Linked DNA regions of Homo sapiens: regions 2 and 3 are each linked to region 1. The links are contacts of gene promoters, found by promoter capture Hi-C in blood cells and fetal thymus (Javierre and others, 2016). All regions are on one chromosome and are shown on one strand. Each heading gives the region's core, a stretch centred on a gene start or on the middle of the fragment in contact. The rest is flanking DNA. Distances are from core to core; before and after follow the strand shown. Region 1 holds the start of SOCS6 (suppressor of cytokine signaling 6). Region 2 has its middle 25 kb from the start of RTTN. Region 3 overlaps SOCS6 (suppressor of cytokine signaling 6).

Evidence for each region. Contacts are between HindIII fragments. The CHiCAGO score rates a contact against its expected background, and 5 or more counts as called.
Region 2: a fragment that was not itself captured here is called in contact with the fragment with the promoter of SOCS6 in region 1 in 3 of 17 cell types (M0 macrophages, M1 macrophages and M2 macrophages); the score reaches 10.0 in M0 macrophages.
Region 3: a contact is called between a fragment that was not itself captured here and the fragment with the promoter of SOCS6 in region 1, in 2 of 17 cell types (M0 macrophages and M1 macrophages). The highest score is 6.7, in M0 macrophages.

What each region holds. Positions count from the first base shown.
Region 1 is chr18:70,287,030-70,291,367 of GRCh38, reverse strand. It overlaps SOCS6 (suppressor of cytokine signaling 6), which reads right to left and starts at 2,323. Exons shown (of 2, transcript NM_004232.4): 1 at 2,278-2,323. RefSeq lists a silencer at 1,588-2,487. The HindIII fragment of the contact is 7,416 bases long and covers 1-3,270 here.
Region 2 is chr18:70,228,990-70,233,327 of GRCh38, reverse strand. No RefSeq gene overlaps it. Among named protein-coding and RNA genes, the nearest start is that of RTTN, 25 kb to the right of the region's middle. The HindIII fragment of the contact is 4,648 bases long and covers 1-4,113 here.
Region 3 is chr18:70,324,733-70,329,070 of GRCh38, reverse strand. It overlaps SOCS6 (suppressor of cytokine signaling 6), which reads right to left. Exons shown (of 2, transcript NM_004232.4): 2 at 1-4,338. The coding sequence ends at 2,795. Among named protein-coding and RNA genes, the nearest start is that of LINC01909, 8.5 kb to the left of the region's middle. The HindIII fragment of the contact is 2,236 bases long and covers 913-3,148 here.

The DNA of each region.
Region 1 (4,338 bases), core at 1,074-3,573:
AGGGCTTTGGGAGGCTGAGGTGAGAGGATCTTGAGGCCTAGAGTTTGAGACCAGCCTCGGCAACACAGCAAGACCCCACCTCTCCAAAAAACAATCAGCCAGGTGTGGTGGCACATGTCTGTGGTCCAAGCTACTCAGGAGGCTGAGGGAGGTGGATCACTTGAGCCCAGGAGTTCAAGGCTGCAGTGAGCCATGATTGCACCACTGCACTCCACCCTGGGTGACAGAGGAAAAACAAAAAAGAAGATACTTGCTTTCTGTTTCCTAAAAAAAGGGGGGCCATTAAAAGAACACCTTTTCCAGTTCTAATGCAAGAATGAAGAAAAACACTGGAAGGCAAAATGACTAGAAACCCAGTCAGTACAGCACCATTTTCCACCCTACGCCCAGTCAATGGCTCTCAAATTCCTTCCCTGCCACTCCCTGCGGGGTGGGGGGCCCACCAAGAGAGGGGGTCATGGGATGACCCGAGGGTGTGCGCTTGGGTGGGAGGCCCTGCTGAAGAGAAAGGGGCAAGACTACCAATTTAGAGGGTAATTTAGAAGATAACGATAAAGGTAAGAGAGAAACAGTGTTTCAAAAGAGATGCTGAATGGAGTTCTAAAAAAGTATAGATTCGGGTGAATACCTGGCTGACCCTTACCCAGGCACAAGCGGAAAGCCCTGGCCAAACTCCAGATAGAAGTTCTTCTAGGAATCCTTATCAAATCCACTGTCCACGAACCAGGTTCCTCCAAGGCACCAAGGCAGGCTTAGGGAGGGTGTTTGAACCAAAGGGTTAAGGCCACATATTTAATTTAGAGCTGAATGGATCCTAGACCTTACCATATCCACGCGTGCACAAAACCCACTAGGAGGAGAAATTAGAAAGCCCACGGAAAAGTATTACAGACTTTTTTTCCGGTTTTTGTGAAACCTGGTGAGCAATGCCATTCGTGTTTTTAAGTAAGGCTGTCCACAGCATTAAATATTACAATTAAGATTCGTTCATTCAAGTAAGCTAAATGGATTTAATGTTGTGGTAGTTGGTTAAAAACAAGTCAAGATAAATTGCTACCTTCAGTGGTTGAGAAGATGTCAGATATTTTATCTTGAAGTAGAACGTTTACTTTTGTTTGATTCCAAATGTATCTTTATCCCAAGGAACACAGTAAATTTAAAATGTCTCTGGGAGACGTTCAGTGTGTAATTCACGTTATTTCTGTCATTACTGTGTTCTCTGTCCTCATGCACAGTGCATGCTGCCTTATCCGGGCAGACGTTGCAGAAACATTTGTTGAAATGAATTCAACATTATTTATTTTGCTACCGGAAGACTGAGTCCCGCCACATATTCCCACCTGGCCCTTCATTCCAAACAGTGGGGATGGGAACCCCAATTTCACATTCCAACTGAACGTTAAGTTGGCACACACACTACTGCACATATCCCAAGTTTTGTGCCAGGATCTGCCCCTGAGAAACGTCCATAATTCTGCTCCGTGAGCCACAAGGGTGTACCTGAAGTTGCCAACTCCCGAAGCAAACTGAAAATTCAGGCCCGTGTCGGTCCCAGGAGCGGTTTAAATTCCACAATCGTCCGGTCCCTACACCCGGGTGAGTGCGCAGCCGGCCGGCGGCACCTTCAGCCGCAGAGCAGCCCCGGCCTGCACCTCCACCAGCGCCGGCGCGACCTCGCGGTGGGGCGGGGGCGTCCCCGAGTCCCAGCGCCGCGCCCCAGGCCCGCCCTCGCGCCTGCGGCCTCGCCGCGCCCCGACCCCGAGCCCGAGCCCGAGCCCGCGGAGGTCCGAGGAGGGACCCGGCCGGGGCGCAGAGCCGCGCAGGCCCCGCGCCGCTGCCCAGGCCTCGCGGAGCCCCGGCCTCTCCCCGGCGAGCTGCGGGCAACAAAGGCGGCGGCCCAGGCCGGCGCGCCGCGGCCGAAGAGGCCGAGGGGTCGAGAAGAGCCGTCCGCGGCCGCGCAGGCCTCGGCCCTTCAGGGGCCGCCGCGCCCCGGCCCCGGCTTCCCGGTTTCCGCGTCCCCGCTCCCGGGACTGGCCCCGGCCCCCGTTCCCCGGCCCTGGCCCCCGCCCGCGCACCCGCCGAGACGGCGCAGGGCCTCGCGCTGACCCAGACCCGTCGCTGCAGCCCCGCGCCCGGCGGCCTCCCTGGCCCGGCCCGCGCCGGATCCGCCCCCTGCACTCCGAGGCGAAAACCAGCCGTGTCCCGGACCGCGGGCGACCCGGAGGCGGACGGCGAAGCCCTGCCCCTGCCTCCCGCCCGAGCTCCCCGGACGCTTACCCGGAGGCGGCCCGGCTCCGCTTCCTCGCCCAGCGCCGGCGCGACTGCCGCGCTCGCCTTCTCCTCTCGGCAACTCCTCCTCCCGCCTCCTTCCTCCTCCTCCTCCAGGAGGGGCGCGCGGCCGCGGCGCCTCGGCCCGAGCGGGGAGCGGGTGCGGAGGAGCCGAGCGGGCCGCCCCCCGTCCACTACTCGGGCCCGCGGCGCAGGCGGGGCGTCGGGGCGCGCGGGGCTGAGGCCGGGGGCCGCGCGGGGCGGGGCGGGGGCCGGGCACTAAGTGGGGGTTCCGAGGGGAGGGGCGCCGGGCCGGGGTCGTGGGGCGGACGGAGCGCGGAGCCCTGATCCCTTCCCCCACCCCCGCGCCCCTCCGCTGGTGCCTGCAGGAGGCCGCTCCTCCGGCCCCCAGAGTCCCTGTCCTGGTTTTTCCTTTGGTGCTTTCCCTCTGGCGGGGGTGGCCCCGGCTAACGCGGAAAGGAAAGTCTCCTCGTTCCCCGGCCCCGCGGATTTGGCGGCTGCGGTCCCTGTCCCCCTGTGGCGGGCGGTCGGACCCCCGCACTGCCCAGGTCCGCTGGGCTCGCGCGGGGACCCCGGCCTCGTCCCCGCAGGGAGGGGACCCCAGGACAGACGCGCGCGCACGCTGTGCAGAGCCACAAGTGGGGAAACCCTCCCCACACCTCGACTAAATTGTGAAAAATGCTTTTTAAAAAACCAAACATTCCTTGTTTCAAGCCATCCACTTTTCCATTTAGTCGTTTTCAGGGAGGTTTTGTACAAGGAATAGTTGTTTGTGCCGCCGAATTCCAAGGTAGTGTGGTATACAAGTTGCATGTTGGGATCTTGACTAATTTCTTTGGAAACTGGCTGAACATACTACTAATGTATAGCAGTACCACAAAAACTTGATTTTTGTGCATAAGAATCAATAGGAAAATTTGTATTTCTCTTACGATGAAAAGTGGTTAAAAAAATGAATATCATTAGTATTTCAGTAAAGCTTGGGGGGAGATAAATATTAAAATCTAATGAGAATTATTGTGGACTTTAAAAGTTGTGTTTCTTGAATAGTATGGACCTTTTTAAAAGAAAACCGAAAGGACAGAGAAAAAAGGGCTAGAAAAAAAGTCTAAAAAGCTGTTCAGGTATGAGTTGGTACCCGAATTATATCTCAATAAAGTTGTTAGTTACAAAAAAGTTCAAGTCCAGTAATCTTAATTCCTATGTCCAATATACAATCTGGATTTCCCCAAGAAATCTAGATTCATAACAGAAAAGTTGGATCTTTAGGTGATGCAAAGTTGATGTCATGTATCATACACTATCATTGTCATCTTCAGTTTTTACTTGAATTTATTAATAAAATACTACCATTATTGTTACCGTGATTGAAATGCAACACAATTCTCAAATATCTAATTACAGTGATTGGAGAATGTAGGTTGAAATAGAATTGTCAGAGAAGTTAGTGGGAAACACAACAAACAGTAATTAACGGTGGCTCATGCCTGTAATCCCAGCACTTTGGGAGGCCGAGGCGGGCGGATCACAAGATCAGGAGATCGAGACCTGCCTGGCCAACACAGTGAAACCCCATCTCTACTAAAAATACAAAAAGTAGCTGGGCGTGGTGGCAGCTGCCTGTAATCCCAGCTACTCAGGAGGCTGAGGCAGGAGAATCGTTTGAACCCGGGAGGCGGAGGTTGCAGTAAGCCGAGATCGCACCACTGCACTCCAGCCTGGGTGACAGAGCTAGATGCCGTCTCAAAAAAAAAAAAAAGAAAAGAAGCAAACGTTTCAATCCTACTGCCTCGGAGTTCCAGTGTCTCCCTATATTTTCTAAAATGACAACCAGTAGGAGCTGTGCAGCAGGGGGTTAGTGAGCCTTTCACGCAGCAATGGGGCTGTGCAGGATGGGGAAGTGTTGACTCTTTTAGGAGACACTTAAATGTATGGTTAAGACCCTGGGGTTCTGAGTCTGGCAGAGCTGGTGCAGAAGCACAGTTTTGACAGGTCATACAGCTGTGTGACCTCAAACAAGTTTCTCAGTTGGAACCTCAGTTTCTACTT
Region 2 (4,338 bases), core at 540-3,039, 58 kb after region 1:
AAGATACATTGGTAAATACTGAAGCACTATGTTTACCAGGCCTTTTCTCATGCATCAGTCCTTTTGAGTACTGGAAAACAAGGGGAGTTCATATCATTTTCACTCTATGGATGGATATGGAGGCGCAGAGATGTACTGTTTCCCAGGCCAGAGGTCGGATCTTGAATTCAGATCTTCTGACTTCAGTAACTGGAGTGCTGAGGTGCTATCTTGGCTCACTGCAACCTCTCCCTCCCGGGTTCAAGAGATTCTCCTGCCTCAGCCTCCCAAGTAGCTGGGATTACAGATGTCCGCCACCATGTCTGGCTAATTTTTGTATTTTTAGTAGAGACAGGGTTTCACCATGTTGGCCAGGCTGGTCTCGAACTCCTGACCTTGTGATCCACCTGCCTTGGCCTCCCAAAGTGCTGGGATTACAGGCATGAGCCACCACACCTGGATTCTGGTCTTTTTAAATAAGCAGCTGTGCTTCTGACCGGAAGGAATGTTAACAAAGAGAACAACAGTGAATATATGAGTTTCTTTCTTAATCTGTAAATAATTGATGGGGAAGGCAATGAGAGAACGTCTGGAACTTAGATACCTACCTTTGCTGGTCCAAAGGAGTTCAGGACATACCACCCTAAAATATGTCTCTTAGGCATAAGAATTATTTTGAGCTAAAGATACTTGAAAAAGCAGCAGGTGCAAGAGGGTCACTGTGACCCCCCTCTTTCTTCCTGTGAGCAGGAGATAAAATTCTCATGTGGAAGATGCTTTCCCTACACCAGGAGGAAATCCCTATACCAGGAAGAAAGTAAGGTTATTGTTATCAAGGATGGGAAGGCAAAGCCAAGAGAAATCCGTGCAAACAAACCTTGTTCAATTAACTAACCCTTATCTTCCCAGTGACTTCACCACCCAGTTAATTACCCTGCCCCAAGCCCCTTTGCCTTGTCATGTTTTTACAATCTACTACCCTTTGTCCAACTCAGTATTAAATGTTTGACTCTCACTGCTTTGTTGAGTCTTCATTTCCTTTGCCCCTGTGTCATGCAAACCTTTTACTAAATAAATTTGTATGCTTTTCTTCTGTTAATCAGTTTTATGTCAGTTTAATTCTCAGACCTAGCCAAAAACCCTATGATGGTAGAGGGAAAATTTTGTCTCCCCTACAGATCCTTATCTTCTCTGGTGAAGGCCTAAAAACTACCTTAGAGTTTTAAAAACTATCATACCTGCTGGGGACAGTGGCTAATGCCTTTAATCCCAACACTCTTTGAGGCCAAGGTGGAAGGAAAAATTGATTCAGGCCAGGAGGTTGAGACCAGCCTGGGCAACATAGGGAGTCCCTATCTCTACAACAACAGCAACAAAATACCAGATGTGGGCCTACTTTTAGATGAGTTAAAGTTAAAGGAAGTTATGGTTATGAGAAAAAGAATATTTTTATTCTTTTTCCACCTTGGCAATTGATTTTCCTCTCAGACCTACTACTGGTTTTAATTAGAAGAATAATGACAGGCGTGGTACATGATGGTGTGGATTAGACTATTCTCCAATGTGAAAGGAATGGGGCATTTTAATTTGATGTTATTCACGAGGGGAAGAAGTCCTAAATAAGTTAAAATAAGTAAACACACTTACCTTCTTTTATAGTATGCTGTATGTGTTAGTCTGTTTTCATGCTGTTGATGAAGACATACCCAAGACTGGGCAATTTCCAAGAGAAAAAGATTTAGTGGACTTACAGTTCCACATGGCTGGGGAAGCCTCACAATCATGGTGGAAGGCAAGGAGTAACAAAGAGTAACACCTCTTACATGGATGGCAGCAGGCAAAGAGAGCTTGTGCAGAGAAACTCCCATTTTTAAAATGATCAGATCTCATGAGACTCATTCACTATCATGAGAACAGTCCAGGAAAGACTCACCCCCATAATTCAATCACTTCCAACTAGGTCCCTTCCACGACTTGTGGGAGTTATAATTCAAGATGATATTTGGGTGGGGACACAGCCAAACCATATCAATATGGAAAGATAACTCTTATGTAAAATATCCACAGACCAACCTTTGGGAACCACCAACAAAGAGAAGGCATGAGGAGATCTGGTTTCTAGTCCTAGCTCTGCCACTAATTCTATGACCTAAAGGAGTCACTTCTTGCTGGATCTCAGGTTCTTCTTGTAAGACATGGAAGGTACTGGAAAAGTACCTTCTGTGTCTCAAATGTGTCCTAATGCCCAAAGGCATTTAGTTCTGAAATTTTAGGCTCTTCTATTCCTGCAGGAATCTTCCGCAATCTGCACCAGCCCTCACTATGCCCTTACTACCCCCTGCCAGTTGTTAAGCATTTTCTAGCCATCACTGGTTAGAAGTGATTTGCTGATTTTTGTACTGACTCCCTGCTATGGACTGAATTGTGTCCTCCACAAAATTCTTATGTTGAAACCCTAACCCCCAATGTGGCTGTATGTGGAATAAGGACGTAATTAAAGTTAAAGGAGGTTATAAGGCTGGAACACTGATTTGATTGGATCAGTGTCTTTGTAGGAAGAGACCCTAGAGAGCTCACTCTCTCTGCTGTGTGAGGACACAGTGAAAAGGTGGCAATCCATAAAACAGCTCCCATCGGAAACCAAATTGGCTGGCACTTTCATCTTGGACTTCTAGCCTCCAGAACTTGAGAAATGAATTTCTGTTGTTTAAGCCACCCAGCCTACGGTATTTTGTTATGTCAGCCAGATCAAACTAAGACACTCCCTAAATACTAGAAGTATGCGTCTGTGGGGATAGGTGGGCAAAAGAGAGAGAGTTGGAGATGATTTATTTGTCTTAGGGCTCCCAGCAGAACACTGAGCAGATGACCAAAAGGAGATGAATAGTAACAGTGAAACCACCTTTGCAAAAGTGCGACTGAGACAGTGAAATAGGTCCAATTTAAATGACTCCATCTTGCCTCTAACCTCCAAGCCATCCTTGTTCATTCCTGGGCATGGGCTGAGCTAACTTTGGGAGGAACTTAGTTTATAGTTTAAAAAAAAGACGGTAACAGCCCTTTCCCAAAACAAACCTCCTTCTTGCCTGGGGACTAGGGCCCTAACATTGGCCACAAGATTAGAAATTATGGTTTAGGAGTCACGCGGCTGGAGGCTACCAGAGTCTGCCCCTCCCTTAACTGCTCCTAAGATCAGTGCTCGAGATGTTTTGCAGACCCTGCACTTGATGGATCAACCAGCACCATCCAGATGGAGAAACGGGCACATCTGACTCGTGACCCCTACCCAGGAACTGACAGTGCAAGAAGACTGTGATGCCCCATGATTTCATCTCCGACCCAACCAATCAGCACTCCCCGACTCACTGCCCCTCACTTCCTACCAAATTGTCTTTAAAAACTCTGATCCTCAAATGCTCAGGGAGACTGATTTCAGTAGTGATAAAACTCCAGTCTCCTGCACAGCCAGCTCTGAGTGAATTTCTCGTTCTCTATTGCAATTCCCGTCTTGAGAAATCAGCTCTGTCTAGGCAGTGGGTAAGGTGAACCCACTGGGCAGTTACAACAATGCAATAGAAATGCTGTTTCCCTTCTTCCTGACTTGTTTGTTTGTTTGTTTTGAGACAGGATCTTTCTCTGTTGCCCAGGCTGGACTGCAGTGGCGGGATCATGGCTCACTGCAGCCTCAACCTCCTGGGCTCAAGTGATCCTCTCACCTTTGCCTCCCAAGTAGCTGGGACCACAGGCATGCACCATGGTTATTATTATTATTTTGGTAGAGATGGGGGTCTCCCTATGGCTGGTCTCAAACTCCTGCGCTCAAGCAATCCTCCCACCTTCACCTCCTAAAGTGTTGTGATTATAGGAGTGAGCCACTGTGCCCGGCCCTCCCTGTCATTTAACATATATATATTTACACACACACACACACACACACACACACACACACACACACACACACATCTTAAATATTTTTCTAGTCTTGATTGCCAGGGCAAACTTAGAGTAAATTTACAAATATCAACCTCTCCCTTGTCATCGTAACACACTTTCTTTTATTCATTTATTTATTCATTAACACATTCTGCTTTGGGTCAGGTGCCAGTGGTTGACACTGAGGATACATCTAAAGCTTATCCAGTTTCTAGACTTTTGAGAAATAATAAAATTCTCAGCCCCTAAATGACTGATTGGACCCCCTCTTGGCCACAGGGACCCCAGAAATGCCTTAGAAGCTGAATTTCCAGCCATGACAGGATGGAGGTCAGACACACCTTATTATACCCACTCCCTCAAAAACTGCCATTAGGGTCTCTTCCCTAAGGGGAAACAGAAGCTAGACTTTTCAAAAGATTTCAC
Region 3 (4,338 bases), core at 781-3,280, 38 kb before region 1:
ATTTCGTGATGAAATATTTAATAGAAAACAATTCTGATTCATCTATTATGGCAAATGGATACAGCTTTCCTGTTTTCTTTTTCTTGCTTTGAGCTCAGATTTTTAGAAGCACGTATTTAAAAAGCACTCATAGGCTGTGTCCATGTCATCTATGTTAACTGCCAATAGAATCCTAAAATTTAACCAAATTGTGTCTAGACCAAACTAAATGATGAGTTTTCTCTCTCTCTTTTCCCTGTTTCCACTTTTAACTGGACTGTGTTAGTATCATATAAAGCCAATCTTTCACATTCTGTTGTGCTGCCTACCCCAAATGGTTATCTTTCTACACAAAAGTAGAAAATATCGCAAAACATCTTTCTGCTTGTAAATTTAACTTTTTGGCAAATAGTTTGATTTTATCATTATACTATCAGAATCTAACAATTTCAAACTAGATTAGAATAGGGCATATTAAAGTATATATTATGAATATACAAAAGCGCATCAAAATTTGGCTTTCTGAATTAGAACAGTATCAAGACTGTCCTCCACTAAAACACAAAATACAATTTTAAAAACATTTAGATGAAAATCTCAATAATCTTGACACTAAGCGGGTAGATCTTAAACACATGGCATGATGAGAAAACGAAGGGAATAGGTTATGTCCACATAAGACGGGTTCAGGGCAGTCCAAAGACCTCTGTGCACCATGATCTCACAAGGAGGACATGTAAATGCTTCTGGAGACACGGAGAAGCCATTTCAACATTTATTATTAATACACAGTGACTCTGTGACAAAACCTGCCATCTAATATAGATGCACAGGGACTTTTAACTCACCCTAGATATACTTTAAGTTGTTTTAAAAATAAATAGTTTTGCAAAAAAATAGTTTAAATGTCTTGCATTAATTTGATAACAAGCTTACAACTCTGCAATAGTTCTTAATCCAAATAGCTTATAATGAACACTTATATTATTACAGTATACTCCATATTCCATCTTATTAGGAGAAAACATATGAGAAAATGAGAGTCTTTTTAACAAGGTACAATCAACATCCCACCAAAATTAAGTACCTTTTCCCCTTTAAGTCAAAATACCATAACACCATAATATTATGGCATTGTGCCTTTTCTTGGTAATATCTCAGTTCTGACCCTAAAAAGCAAAGAGAAAAAAGTGAGGATTCAGATATGCTTGAATGACAAAGCCAGTAAGTTTGACCTAAACCTTTACCCTCATGTTTAAAGTGGGTAAGAGACTTTTCCTATCTCTTCCTTTAAGTGACAAAGGAAGAACCATCCCAAATTACATGTTTCATCTGAGATAGAAACATTTTCCTTTAAAGGTGTGTAGCTGAAAATTTTCTGGACAGGGCAATCCCAAAATACTACATCCATTGCAGAACTGTGAAATGAATAAACACTCTGCATTACAAAATAACTAAAAATTATTGAATATAACATCTCTCCCCAACAACCGACTCAAGGAGATAAAATTATTAGCAACGGCAAATTACTTAAGACTTAGCTAAATTTTAAAAACCTATTTTTAAATGGCAGTATATATGATAGACAATATGACTTCCACATTATCTAATATGGTTTAGAATTTTTCTCACATTGTGAGAAAAATTGCTCCACAATTTCCACAATTTTTAAACTAAAGTCATCACGGGTTCTCTTTATAGTGGGGGTAAGGATTGGTCAAATCCAGCACACTTTTATAGTAACTACATAGAAGAAAAATATAAATCCAACTTTAAAACAATGTTTTCTTTCTATTCAAATCAATTTAAAACTTTTTATAAACATTAATGTTGCAAGAGAATCCAGTCCATTTATGAAAATTAGTTGACAATCAAGTTCACCCAAGAAAATGTTGACTAAGCTAAAGAAATCACAGATAAAACATTTTACCAAAAGGATAGGTAACACACAAAAAAATGCTATCACAGGAAGCTATGATCATCTAATATTTCTTTAATAATAATTCTAGTTCCATAGGTTTTCATGTTATGCCAATTTGTACCCGAGTTTAATTACAGAAAAGGCAACAATTTCTAAATTGGTGGTATACATTTCTTTACAATTTTTTAATGTAAGGCCATTTATTAAAATAGACAAACTAGAAGATGAAAACGAAGGCAACAGAAAAATTCAACTTTTCACAACCAAAAGAATTAGCACAACCTTAGAAATAATTTAGAAAAAAGTGTTGTTAAAAGATATGTTGCAGATCTCCGTTCCATTACCCAAGATTATGTCAATTCACGATTCTAAATAAATCTTTTTAAAGTAAGAGATTAAAAACTCATCTTCAGTGTATATGTAAATTCTGTGTTTTATCACACAGGTATGTTTATTCAACACTGTCTTTTGAAAATGGACCATTTAAAAAGACATAGCAATTTCCATTCTGTTAAGTTTCATTCAACTTTACTTAGGGTTGAATACACATGAAATGTGCTTTTAATGCATAAAAATCACAGTGGATAGCAGCAAAGGACTGGGCGGGGGGGGCATTGAGGAGAATTTGATAATTCACATTGTGATTATTCTGCACATTGATGAAACATAATTCACACCTCTAAAACCTCAAGACTTCCCTTTTTTAAAGAACCAAAATAAACCCAAGACACCTTGCTGACACTTCCCCACCCCTAAACAAACTGATGACTCTTTTACACATAAAACTGAAATAGTTATGGCAGCAAAAGATTTTGATGGCAATGAAAGTTTGTAAACTGTATTTCAATCTCTTGTTCTTATTCCCAAAGTGCAAGATGCAGGGTTCTCAATCTTTCAGTAGTGCTTCTCCTGTAAATAATCCTTCATTTTGTTTGGCAAAGGCAGTTTCTGAATTAAGTCTATTCTGGTATACTGACGTATAACAAAACGACACAGGTACTGCAACGAGCGCACCTGCATGAACCGGGACACTGGGTTGGTCAGTCTGACGGGGTAAGTTGCAGATCCAGGCAGCCGAGACCTTGAATAACAAAAAGCTCCATTTTCAGAGTCCCTGATTGAATGCTCAATTAGATCAACTATGGACGTATGTCCTTCCACATCTGGCTGTTCATAAAAGCTAAACCTACCATTTGAGTGCTCAATTCTAGTGTGAAGTGTTTTACCATGGGAGCGAAAGCTCAAGCTTAAAAGGTAACGGTCGTCAGAACTGTCCCGAACAAGAAAAGAACCATCTGGCACGTTTGCTAGCTTCCCTTCTGCCTCCCAACGTGTGATTGGTCCCCAGTACCATCCTTGCTTTGCAAGTTTTTTCAGCTCCTCTGTAAGGCTTGTCACAACCATGGGACCACTACTTTGCACTGAGTCATAAACTCTTGCAACCCCAGGAGCAGAGTTCGGATCAAAATTCAAATGACAGCGCATACTTTCAGCCACGTGGGCTTCTGTGCCAGTGAGTCCACTGAAGTTCCTTTGGATTTGATTATTCTGCATTGGAGGTAGCAATGGTGAGAGTGGAGGGACATCATCGTGACCCGCTCTCGGGCTCTGCAACATGACTCCCGTGGTGCCAATCAACAAGCCATTCACGGACTGATCCACGAAGATCTCTGGGGCGACAACTAGGTCCTGGTCTACCTGACTCTCATCCTCGGGGAAAGCGCGCCCTCCCACTTGAGGAGGAACCGCAGAGACTTCCATGGGAGAAGAGCTGTCCAGACAATAGCTCCGTGATCCTTCCAAAGGATACATCCCCTCATCTAAAGGCACAGTATACTGAATGTAGTCCTGAGGCATAAGTCCAATAACGACAGGCACATGTTCATCCAGGTGAAGATGCAGGTCTCCATTATGAGAAGCCGAGCTCTTCAGTGAATTGGCTTGCTCCTGGCACGTGGTCTCAGACTGGAGGTCGTGGAAATCCTTCCGGACGCCATTCAGGGCTGGACTCGGGCTGGAAGAGTGAACCAAGGCCTTGACTCTCACCTCCATCTTGATGCAGGTCTCCTCGGAGTTTGTGGGCCGCAGAGGCCACGGCGCGGGACTGTAGTGATGGCTGCGGAGCGACGTGGACCTTATCGGCCTCTGAGCTCTCACGTCTTTAAAGACTATGGGTGCTGAGGAGGAGGAGAAGGTGTCCTCGTCGGCAGAGCTCCCAGAGGGTGTGCCCGCCTTGCCTTTTGACTTCTGTTTTGCAGAAAGCCGCCTTTTTAGCGTACCCATCAGGCTCTCGCTTTTTGATCTGTTTTTTCCGCCTTTTTCATCTTCACCGTTGATATCGCAGCTGGCCATATCTTTACCATAGCAGCTACCAAATAAGGAATCATCTTTTCCAAAGTCACTGGCTAGCGATGGTTGTTGTACTACCATGAAATCAG